Linked DNA regions of Homo sapiens: region 1 is linked to region 2. The links are contacts of gene promoters, found by promoter capture Hi-C in blood cells and fetal thymus (Javierre and others, 2016). All regions are on one chromosome and are shown on one strand. The core of a region is centred on a gene start or on the middle of the fragment in contact, and the rest is flanking DNA. Distances in the headings are between cores, read along the strand shown. Region 1 overlaps EXOC6B (exocyst complex component 6B). Region 2 holds the start of CYP26B1 (cytochrome P450 family 26 subfamily B member 1).

What was found. The method cuts DNA at HindIII sites, captures the fragments that hold promoters and counts their contacts. A CHiCAGO score of 5 or more calls a contact.
Region 1: a fragment that was not itself captured here is called in contact with the fragment with the promoter of CYP26B1 in region 2 in 1 of 17 cell types (erythroblasts); the score reaches 8.5 in erythroblasts.

What each region holds. Positions count from the first base shown.
Region 1 is chr2:72,595,151-72,600,011 of GRCh38, reverse strand. The region is part of intron 6 of EXOC6B (exocyst complex component 6B); the gene reads left to right. Among named protein-coding and RNA genes, the nearest start is that of EXOC6B, 230 kb to the left of the region's middle. The HindIII fragment of the contact is 535 bases long and covers 3,317-3,851 here.
Region 2 is chr2:72,146,082-72,150,620 of GRCh38, reverse strand. CYP26B1 (cytochrome P450 family 26 subfamily B member 1) reads left to right here and starts at 2,759. Exons shown (of 6, transcript NM_019885.4): 1 at 2,759-2,990. The coding sequence starts at 2,787. RefSeq lists enhancers at 2,870-3,371, 3,561-4,083. The HindIII fragment of the contact is 2,315 bases long and covers 1,726-4,040 here.

The sequences.
Region 1 (4,861 bases), core at 2,335-4,834, 450 kb before region 2:
TAGAATTTTCTATTGGAATTGTGTTGAATCTTTAGATCATTTGGGAGAAATTGATATTCTAATATTGAGTTTTCTTATTAATGAACATGGAATACCTCTTCATTTATTTCTGTTTTTTTTTTGGTCTTTTTAATAACAGTTTTGTAGTTTTCCTCGTATAGGTTTTGTACAAATTTTTTAGATTTATACGTAATTGTTTCTTTGGGGTGCTAATGTAAATGGCACTGGGTTTTGAATTTCAAGTTCCAGTTGTTCATTGCTAGAATTTAGTAAAGCAACTGACTTTTGTATATTCACCTCTATCCTGCAGCCTTGCTATAATCACTTAGTTTTAGGAGGGCTTTTTTTTTTCCCCTTGTGATTCATTGGAATTTTCTAAAATAGACAATCATGTGGTTGGCAAACAAAGACAGTTATATTCCCAATTTATGTACATTTTGTTTCCTTTTCTTGCTTTATTGCATTAGCTAGGACATCCAATATGATGTTGGATAGTAGTGGTGAGAAGTGACATCCTTGTATTGTTCCTGATCTTAGGAGGAAAGCATCTAGTTTCTCACTGTCAAATATGATGTGATATAGGTTTTTTATGGATGTTCTTCATCAAGTTTCAGAAATTTCCTTCTATTAGCAGTTTGCTGAGAGTTATTATGATGAATGGTGTTGGTTTTTGTCAAATGCTTATTTTTTGTTTTTTGATATGATCTTTTTTGTCTTTTTTAACCTATGGATGTGATGGATTATATTAATTGATTTCTTAATGTCAAACCAGCCTTACACACCTATAACAAGCCTTACTTGTTGTGATGTTTAATTCTTTTTATACATTGTTGGATTTGCATTACTATATTTTGTTGAGGGTGTTTACATCAGTGTTCATTAGAGATATTGACCTGTACTTTTCCTTTCTTGTAAGTTTTTAAATCTGGCTTTGATACTATGGACTATGGTAATGCTGATTTAATAGAATGAGTTAGGAAGCATCTTTCTGCTTCTATTTTTTGGAAGAGATTGTAGAGAATTCAATAATTTCTTTCATAAATGGTAGAGTTCACCAGCTAACCTATTTGGATTTGCTGCTTTCTGTCTTGAAAGGTTATTAATTATTAATTCAATTTGTTTAACAGATATGGGATACAGATATATTTAAATTACATATTTTTCAGTAAACTAATTTTGGTAGATTGTCTTTCAAGGAATTGCTCTGTTTCATCAAAGTTATCAAATTCATGAGTATAGATTTGTTCATAATATTCTTTTGTTATCCTTTTAATGTCCATGGGATTAGTAGTGATAGTCTCACTTATGTTTGTGCTATTTGTAATATATGGCTTCTGTTTATCTCCCTTTTTGCAGTTAGCCTGGCTAGACATTTATCAACTTTACCAGTCTTTTCAAAGAACCAGCTTTTCATTTCATTGTCTCTGTTGTTCTCTTATTTTCAATTTCATCGTTTCCTACTCCAATGTTAATTATTCTTTTCTTTTGCTTGCTTAGGTTTATATTGCTACACTTTCTCTTGTTTCCTTAGGTGGAATTTAGATCTTTCTTCTTTACTGGTTTATGCATTCAATGCTATAAATTCCCCTGTAAGCACTGTTTCTGCTCTATACCACAAATTTTTATTAGTTGTTTTTTAGGTTTTATTTAGTTTACATTTTTAAAAAGTTTCTCTTGAGACTTCTTTGGCTCATGTATTATTTAGAAGTATGTTGTTTAATCTCAAAATATTTTGGAATTTTCTGTTATTGATTTCTTGTTCCATTCTGTTGTGGTCTGAGTGGGTACTTCTTTTGATTTCTATTCTTTAAAATTTTTTGAGTGTGTTTTATGGCCATCAGTGTGCTATGCCTTGGTGAATTTTCCATGTAAGCTTGAGAGAAGTGTGTATTCTGCTGTTATTGAATGAAGTATTCTACAAATGTCAAGTAGATCCAGTTGTTCAGTTTAGCTATTACTGCTTTTCTGCCTGCTGGATCTTTCAATTATTGATAGATGTGTGTTGAATTCTCCCATTATAATAATAATAATAATTTTGTTGTTTTCTCTTGAAGTTCTGTCAGTTTTTGCCTTATGCATATTGGTGCTCTGTTGTTAGGTGCATACCCACTAAGGACTGTTGTGTCTTCTTGGAGAATTGACTCCTTTATCATTATGTAATACCTCTCTATATCCCTGATAATTTTATTTGTTCTGAAATGTGCTTTGTCTGAAAATGATATAGTGACTCCAGCTTTCTTTTTGTTACTGTTCGTGTGGTATATGTTTCCCCATCTCTTTATTTTTAATCTATCTGTGGTTTTATACTTAAAGTGGGTTTCTTATAGGCAACATATAGCTGAGTCTTTCTTTTTATCCACTCTTTCCATCTCTTTTAGTTACTATATTTGGACAATTCACATTTAAGGTGATTATTGATTTAGTTGGATTAATAGCTACTATATTTATTACTTTTATATTCTTATTATACTTGTCCTTTGTTCCTTTAAAAAAATCTTTTTTTCCTGCCTTTTATGGTTTTTAATTGAGTATTTTATAGAATTCCATTTTCCCTCTCAGCATATAATTATACTTTCTTTAAAAATTTTTACCAGTTGTTCTTGGGTTTGCAATATCCATTTATAATTAATCTAAGTCCACTTTCAAATAACAGTGTAATGCTTCATAGTAGGGCAGATACATTGTAACAGAGTATTCCCAGTTCCTCCCTCTAGTTCCTTATAACATTGCTGTCATTAATTTCCTTTATCCATAAACTATAATAACCTAATCCATTATTGGTATTATTTTTAAGAATTAAAAATTTTAAATTGAGGTAAGATTTACATAATATAAAATTAACCATTTTTAAGTGAACAATTTAGTGGCATTTAGTATATTCAGTTTTGTATATCTATCTCTATTTACTCCTAAAACATTTCCATTATCCCAGAAAGAAACCTTAAGGGTATTGGATATAGGGTTTCTTTTTGGGATAATGGAAATGTTTTAGGAGTAAATAGAGATAGCTGTACAATAATTATTCCCCATTCCACCCTCTCTGATAGACATGATGCATTAGATATTAAGATCTGAGATAAATAGGATTTTAATATGAGTATTTATGTTTATCTAGGTAGGAGTTAGTCTGTATTTAATGTTTACTGTAATTTTTGGTGTCAGAGCCTTCAATTTCCTCTTGTGTCCTTGTTTTTCTCTCCCTTGTCTTTAGCTTTCCCTAGTAGCTCCTTTTTAAACAGTGTTTTATAGCTCTTTCTGTTGTAATTCACTGTTATTAATGTGGTGGTAAGGTTTTTGGGGTTGGAGGTAGGAAGCTTTCTGTAGCCTTATGATTAAATCTCTCTCTCTTTGTTAAAAAATATTGAACCAACATTCCTGGACTGTGACCTTCAGAGTTTCTTGACCTTTCTTTTTCTTCTTTTTTCTTCCTTTATGTTTTTCTTCCTTTATGTAAGAAAGGAAGACTAGAGGGAGCATATTTCAAAATGGTTACGTTTCTCCTTTCTCTGCTGGAAGCAGGAGGGGATTTTTTTGGATGTTCTCCATGAGAACCTTGGAAAGCTCCTAAAGGTAAAACTCAGGAGCCCCCCTAAGACTGGGCCTCTTAAAGAGTTTTAACTTTTAACACTGTTCCAGTAATTATGTATCATTTAAGTTTTCCTACCTGTTACTGGGTAGGCACCAGGGGATTCTGCTCATGATAGTTGTGATTTCTCTGTATTCACCTGTCTCTCTAATTTTCTGGGAAGCATCTTGTCTTGGGACCTCAATTCTCTGATGGATCTGAGAAGAGTTTTCTAGTTTTTCATCTTTTTTCTTGTTGTGAATATGGGAGTCACAGCTTCTAAGCTTTTCACACTTTGGAGCTGAAACCAGAAGTCTGTTCCACCTTGGCTTTTTATACTATTTTTAGAACTCATTCTTCCTGGGCTGTCTCACCAGACCTCTTGTCTTTTGACATCTATTATTACTGAGGAGAAGCCAGAGGCCTTCCTTTTCTTTTTTCCACCACTTGTGGTGCGGTATGCTTCTTTTGACTTGGTGATAAGATTTTTAGACTTCAAGTTCAGGAATCTTTCTAGGCTATATTTTGGTATTGATTATTTCTTTTGGAACATGGTAGTCTTATTTGTGCAAATTGAGAACTTGAAACATTTTTTAGCCTTCAGCATTTTTATATTCTGCTTGTTCTTTTCTCTTAATCTGAAAGTAATTACAGTATGTTGGCATTCCATTGTCAGTCTTCCATATTTATCATCATTTCTCTAATTTCTTTCATATTTTTGTCTGTCTTCTTATTGTGTATCTATGTCTTTTAAAAAAATTTGTGTCACTTCTCTCCTTTATGACCCTAATTTGGTATTGCTTCTGGCTTCTAATGGGTTTTCAGTTCTGTATTGCTTTTAAGTTTTTTCTGTTTCTTCCATTAACTCTCATCACTCTTTAAAAGAATATTCTTCTGACATATTACTTTATAAAAGCATGTTGTGTCTCTTCTTTGATAACTTTTTCTGTAGTATTCATATTTTCTTAACTTCTTGATATTATAGAAAAGTTTTTGTTTTTTCTTTTACTACACAAAATTATTTTTTCAAAATTTTTTATTTTAATACAATTATTTTTATTTTTAAAATTATATTATTAGCCTATCTTTACATATCTTTCCTTTTTGTTCATTTTCTTCTCCATGCTTATTAATTGTCATATATATATATAGATATATATATCTATATATCTATATATATATATTTGAGACAGAATCTTGCTCTGTTGCCCAGGCTGGAGTGTAGTGGCACCATCTCGGCTCACTGCAATCTCTGCCTCCTGAGTTCAAGTGATTCTCCTGCCTCAGCCTCCCAAG
Region 2 (4,539 bases), core at 1,510-4,009:
GAGCTGATCTCCCACTATGAAGGGCGAGTGCGGAAAGGGAGCAGAGGGAATTGTTTCCCCGAATCTGTAGTACTATAACTGCCCACCAGGTGGGGTTCCAGGGCAGAGAGTGAAGCCGAGGTGACCCAGCGCTAGGAGCTAGACCAGCGTTTAGATCTCCTGCCACACCAGCCTCGGAAGCGCTCACACAGGGAGGGACAACACATCTGTGCGCACCTTAGACGCTCACACACATTCTCGTCTCGTGAACTCTAAAGCAGAACTCGTACTGGGTGCAGGCAAGGTGTTAAAAGCGGAGTCTAGTATCGTTGACACACACACTACTCTAAACTAAAGATGGGATATCGACTCTGGCTCCGGGAGTGTGAGAGTGAACGCCAGAGCCAAGGGGGGCTGAGGGAAGCAGGATGCACGGGAGAGAGAGGGGCAGACATTAGCTAGACCAATGTCGGGGTTGCTGTACGCAGCTCCATGTTAACACAGGCTCGCAGGAGGAGAGGCCAGATGACAGATGCACGGATGCGCAGACACACTCATGGCTCTACAAAGAATACACAAACCCACAGACATACCACGTCGCTCCTCAGACGTCGGGCCGACGCAAGGCCACGCGCGCGAACACACAGGTGCGGCCCCGGGCCACACGCACACCGTACACAGGCACGCGCGCCGGGCCCTCTGCTGCCAGCGCTGAGAAGGTGGCCGTGCTCACCCAGCATGTTTATTTACTCATTTGTATCAATGAACGTTTGTGCCCGTCTTCTCCCGCCTCTGGGTACCGGGGCCGCCGCGTTTGTCCCCGCGCAGGACACTTGCCGGACCAGTATCGGGGTTCCCCGACGCTGCGGGCGGTGGAGGGGGACTACAAAAGCAGGGGAGGGGGGTCCCAATGTGCAGGAAAGGAGGGGCTGCAGAGTCAGCAGCCTGGGACGCTGACGGGGACAGGAGAACCTCCAGGTTCCGTAGGGTAAGAGACATATGGCGGGGGCGGACCTTAGCATCGGAGGTGTGAGGATATAGGGATCGGGAATGGGGGATCTGGCTTAGGGGGATTGGGACTGGTAACTCAGGGGTCCCTGGAGATAAGAGCCAGCGGGATCCCGGGGGTTGGAAGCTCGGGACCCTAAGGCACAGTTTCGAGGGCTTTGGGCGCCTGCCAGTCGAGGGGGCAGTCCGGCCAGGACCTCCGCTGCCGGGGCTTCGGCCCAGGAGGGACTGCTCGGAGCTGGAGGAGGGGACCGCTGACCTGGGAAGGAGGAAAAGAGGAAGGGAAGGAGCCTAGAAGCCAAGCAGGCACTAAGCGAGTGCGCACCGTGTGTGCGGAGGTGTGTGTGTTGTGTGTGTGCGCGTGTGTGTTGTGTGTGTGTGCGCGTAGGTGCGCGCGCGTGTGTCTCATCTCGTCCGTCTGTAGGCGCTGGGCTCAGCGAGACGCCGGCGAGAAAGAAGAGGAGGCGAGAGGTGAACTGAGTTTGATCCTGCGGCGGCTACAAGTGGGTCCCGGGCGGGCTGCGGGCGGCGGGCGGCGGGCGGCCGGGGCGGGGCGGGAGGCCGGGCTGCGCTCTCCAGCTCCGGCCGCGGGCCCGGCCTCTCACCACGCCTCCGGCTTTGTGAGCGCGCGGGTTGGGGCGGGGGGGTGCTGGCGGGGCGCCCACGGCGCAGCCTCCCGCCTCTATATAAACACACGCATCGCCTCGCTTTGGACTCAAATTCACATTGAGAGAAGCTTTTAAAACCACCAGCCCTGAAATCCTGCCTCCTGCTTTTCCCCCTCTTTCATTCCTTTTGCCTTCCTTTCTTTTTTCCCCATTTCTTCCCCCAGCAGCAACTCCAGAGCCGAGAGACCGCGTCCCGGGACGGACTGCCTTTTCTTAATTGATACAATAGCCCAGCTCGGGTTTTCCACCTCCTCCCCCAACCCCACCCCGCCTCACCCCTCCCGCCCGCTGCCGCCGCCGCCGCCGCCGCCGCCGCCGCCGCCGCCCCATCGCCCGCCCGGGGCTCTGTCGCCGGCTGCGTCCCGTCCCGGCCGCGGCCCGCCGGCTCCGCACCCGCGCTCGGGCCGCAGCGCCCGCCTCGCCGCCTCGCCCGCCGCTCCTGCCTCGGGGGTGCTGCGGCGGCTCTGGGGCTCGAGCGCGCCGCCCCGGGCAGCCCAGGGACTTTTAGGCTCCGGCCTCTCCACTCGCCTCAGCCAGGGAGCTTTCTCCCTCGCCCCCAAAGTTTCTGGGTTCGTTGGAATTTTTGGATTCAGGAATTTTTTCTTTTTTTCTTTTTTTCACCTAGGAATTTTGGGGCCATACTGCAATACTTTTGACAAATCGACCGCACTTTCTCTCTGCTAGCTCTCTGCCCCCTTCTTTTTTTCCGAGCAGGGGAAGGGGCTTACGAGAGAGAGGCTCCCTCTGGACAAAGTTTTCCAAAGTTTTCCGAGTGTGATGGTAGCGGGGAGAGCAAACCCACCAGCTTGACTCACGGCTTCATCTCACCACCCCTTGAGCAGCCCCTAAGCCCGCTATAAAGGAACAAACAAACAAACAAACAAACAAAGTTGCACCCCAGTCGCCTCGTGTTTCCTCTCTTCTTTTAGGCAATTTTTTTCCTCCCTCTCTCCGCTCCCCTCGCAGCCTCCACTCCCTTTCCCTTGGCCCCTTCCTCCTTCTCTGTTTCGGCTGGAGGTGCCAGGACCCCCGGCCGCAGCCTCCCCTCCCCCGCCGCTCCGGTCCCCTCCCGTCGGGCCCTCCCCTCCCCCGCCGCGGCCGGCACAGCCAATCCCCCGAGCGGCCGCCAACATGCTCTTTGAGGGCTTGGATCTGGTGTCGGCGCTGGCCACCCTCGCCGCGTGCCTGGTGTCCGTGACGCTGCTGCTGGCCGTGTCGCAGCAGCTGTGGCAGCTGCGCTGGGCCGCCACTCGCGACAAGAGCTGCAAGCTGCCCATCCCCAAGGGATCCATGGGCTTCCCGCTCATCGGAGAGACCGGCCACTGGCTGCTGCAGGTAAGGGCGCGCTCGCTCCGCTGCACTCCGGGGTCCGCTAGCTGCGAGCGCGGGGCAGACGGAGCGGCGGGCCGGCCAGGGGGCGCCGGGAGCCTGAAGGCACTGGTCCCCGCCCCGCCCCTTCCCTCCTCTCTGCCGCAGCAGCCCGGGCTTCCCCAGCCCGCCGGCAGCGCGGTTCCGGGACCACTGGCGCCCGCGGCGCAGGTTCAGGGGGCTGGTAAGAGGGGTTCCCGGACCTGAGGGGGCTCCCAAGATGGACTTGCCTGGGTCGCGGCTGGCCTGGCAGGGGGCGTGGAGCGCCCCGGGGGCGCCTAGCGAGGCGCGGTCCCGGGGGAGGGTCCGGTCCTGAGCCGCTTTCGCCTCCCCTCGGTGCTGCAAGCCCCCAGTCGCCCTCGGCTTTCTGGGGTTGGCTGTGTCGCTGGGAGCCGAAAATTGAGTCGGGAGAGGAGGGGGCTGGTGGCAGCTTGAATTGCCGATTTAAAACTGTGTTCCTGCGGCGCCGTCGGCAGCGCCAGGTACAGTGTCCCTGGTCCGCGGTCCGCGCGAGTGTGTCTGTTTTGTGGTGGAAGAGGAAGAAGGTAACCCAAGGAAAAATGAGAATCCAGGGCTCTAGGCTTTCGGGGAAAAGGGTCTATTTACTTATTGGGTGGGGACAGTTTGGCAGGAGAGGGAAACTTGGGAGAGGTGAGTGTGGGATCCATAGAGAGAGAGTGCGTGTGTGCTTGTTAGATGCCGCACAACCCCACTCTGCTGGTGATAACGGGGGTGAGGCGCGTCAGGGACCAGACCCAGGTAGGTAATGGGGAGATTAACCTGGAGTTCACCTCATCAAGTGCCAGACAATCGCTTTTGCAATGTGATACACACCGGTTTTCTTCTTGGGGTGGGGGAGCGGAGCGCCTCTGCAGTAACTGCGGGAGGTGTATTTGTGTGTACGCGCGTTTGTTCTGTTAGGGGAAGCAGGGATGTCCTGAAACTGACAATCCCCGCACTAGAGAGGTGAAGCGAAAGGTGAGCGCTGCGACCTGTGGGTTTACAGGTGCGAAAGCTTGGCTTGAAATTAACAGACGCGTGCAATCCGCGCGCTCGCGCACACACGCACTCACCCTGCCCCGGGACGAGTGACAGCGGAGCGGGGGCGGGGAGGGGGTTCGAAGTTCCTCTGCCCTGTGGTCTTTCCACGTCCCGGATTAGGCCCATCTCTTTTTGGGGTTGTTCGTGCAATGAGGTGGGGGTCCTTTCAACCAATGGATGTATCACCCCCCCACCCCCCGCAAAGAAATCCCCAGAGCCTTTCCCTCGCCACCACACTTAAAGTGTCAACTGCAGCGGTGCTCTAGGCTTTGGGCCGCGAATTTAGGAAATAAAATAACTTGGGCAACGGCTCCCGCCTTTTAGAGCCAGTCTGCTGAATCCACGGTCTGTCACCACCCACCCCCACTTCGTTTCCTGACCTCTCTGCCCCCCCTCAGGTCCCCATGACCTTTTCTCCGAATCCCACAAGAGCCCCTGGGGGTCAGCGTCCAACCTGCACAGAAGTTAGGGAGGA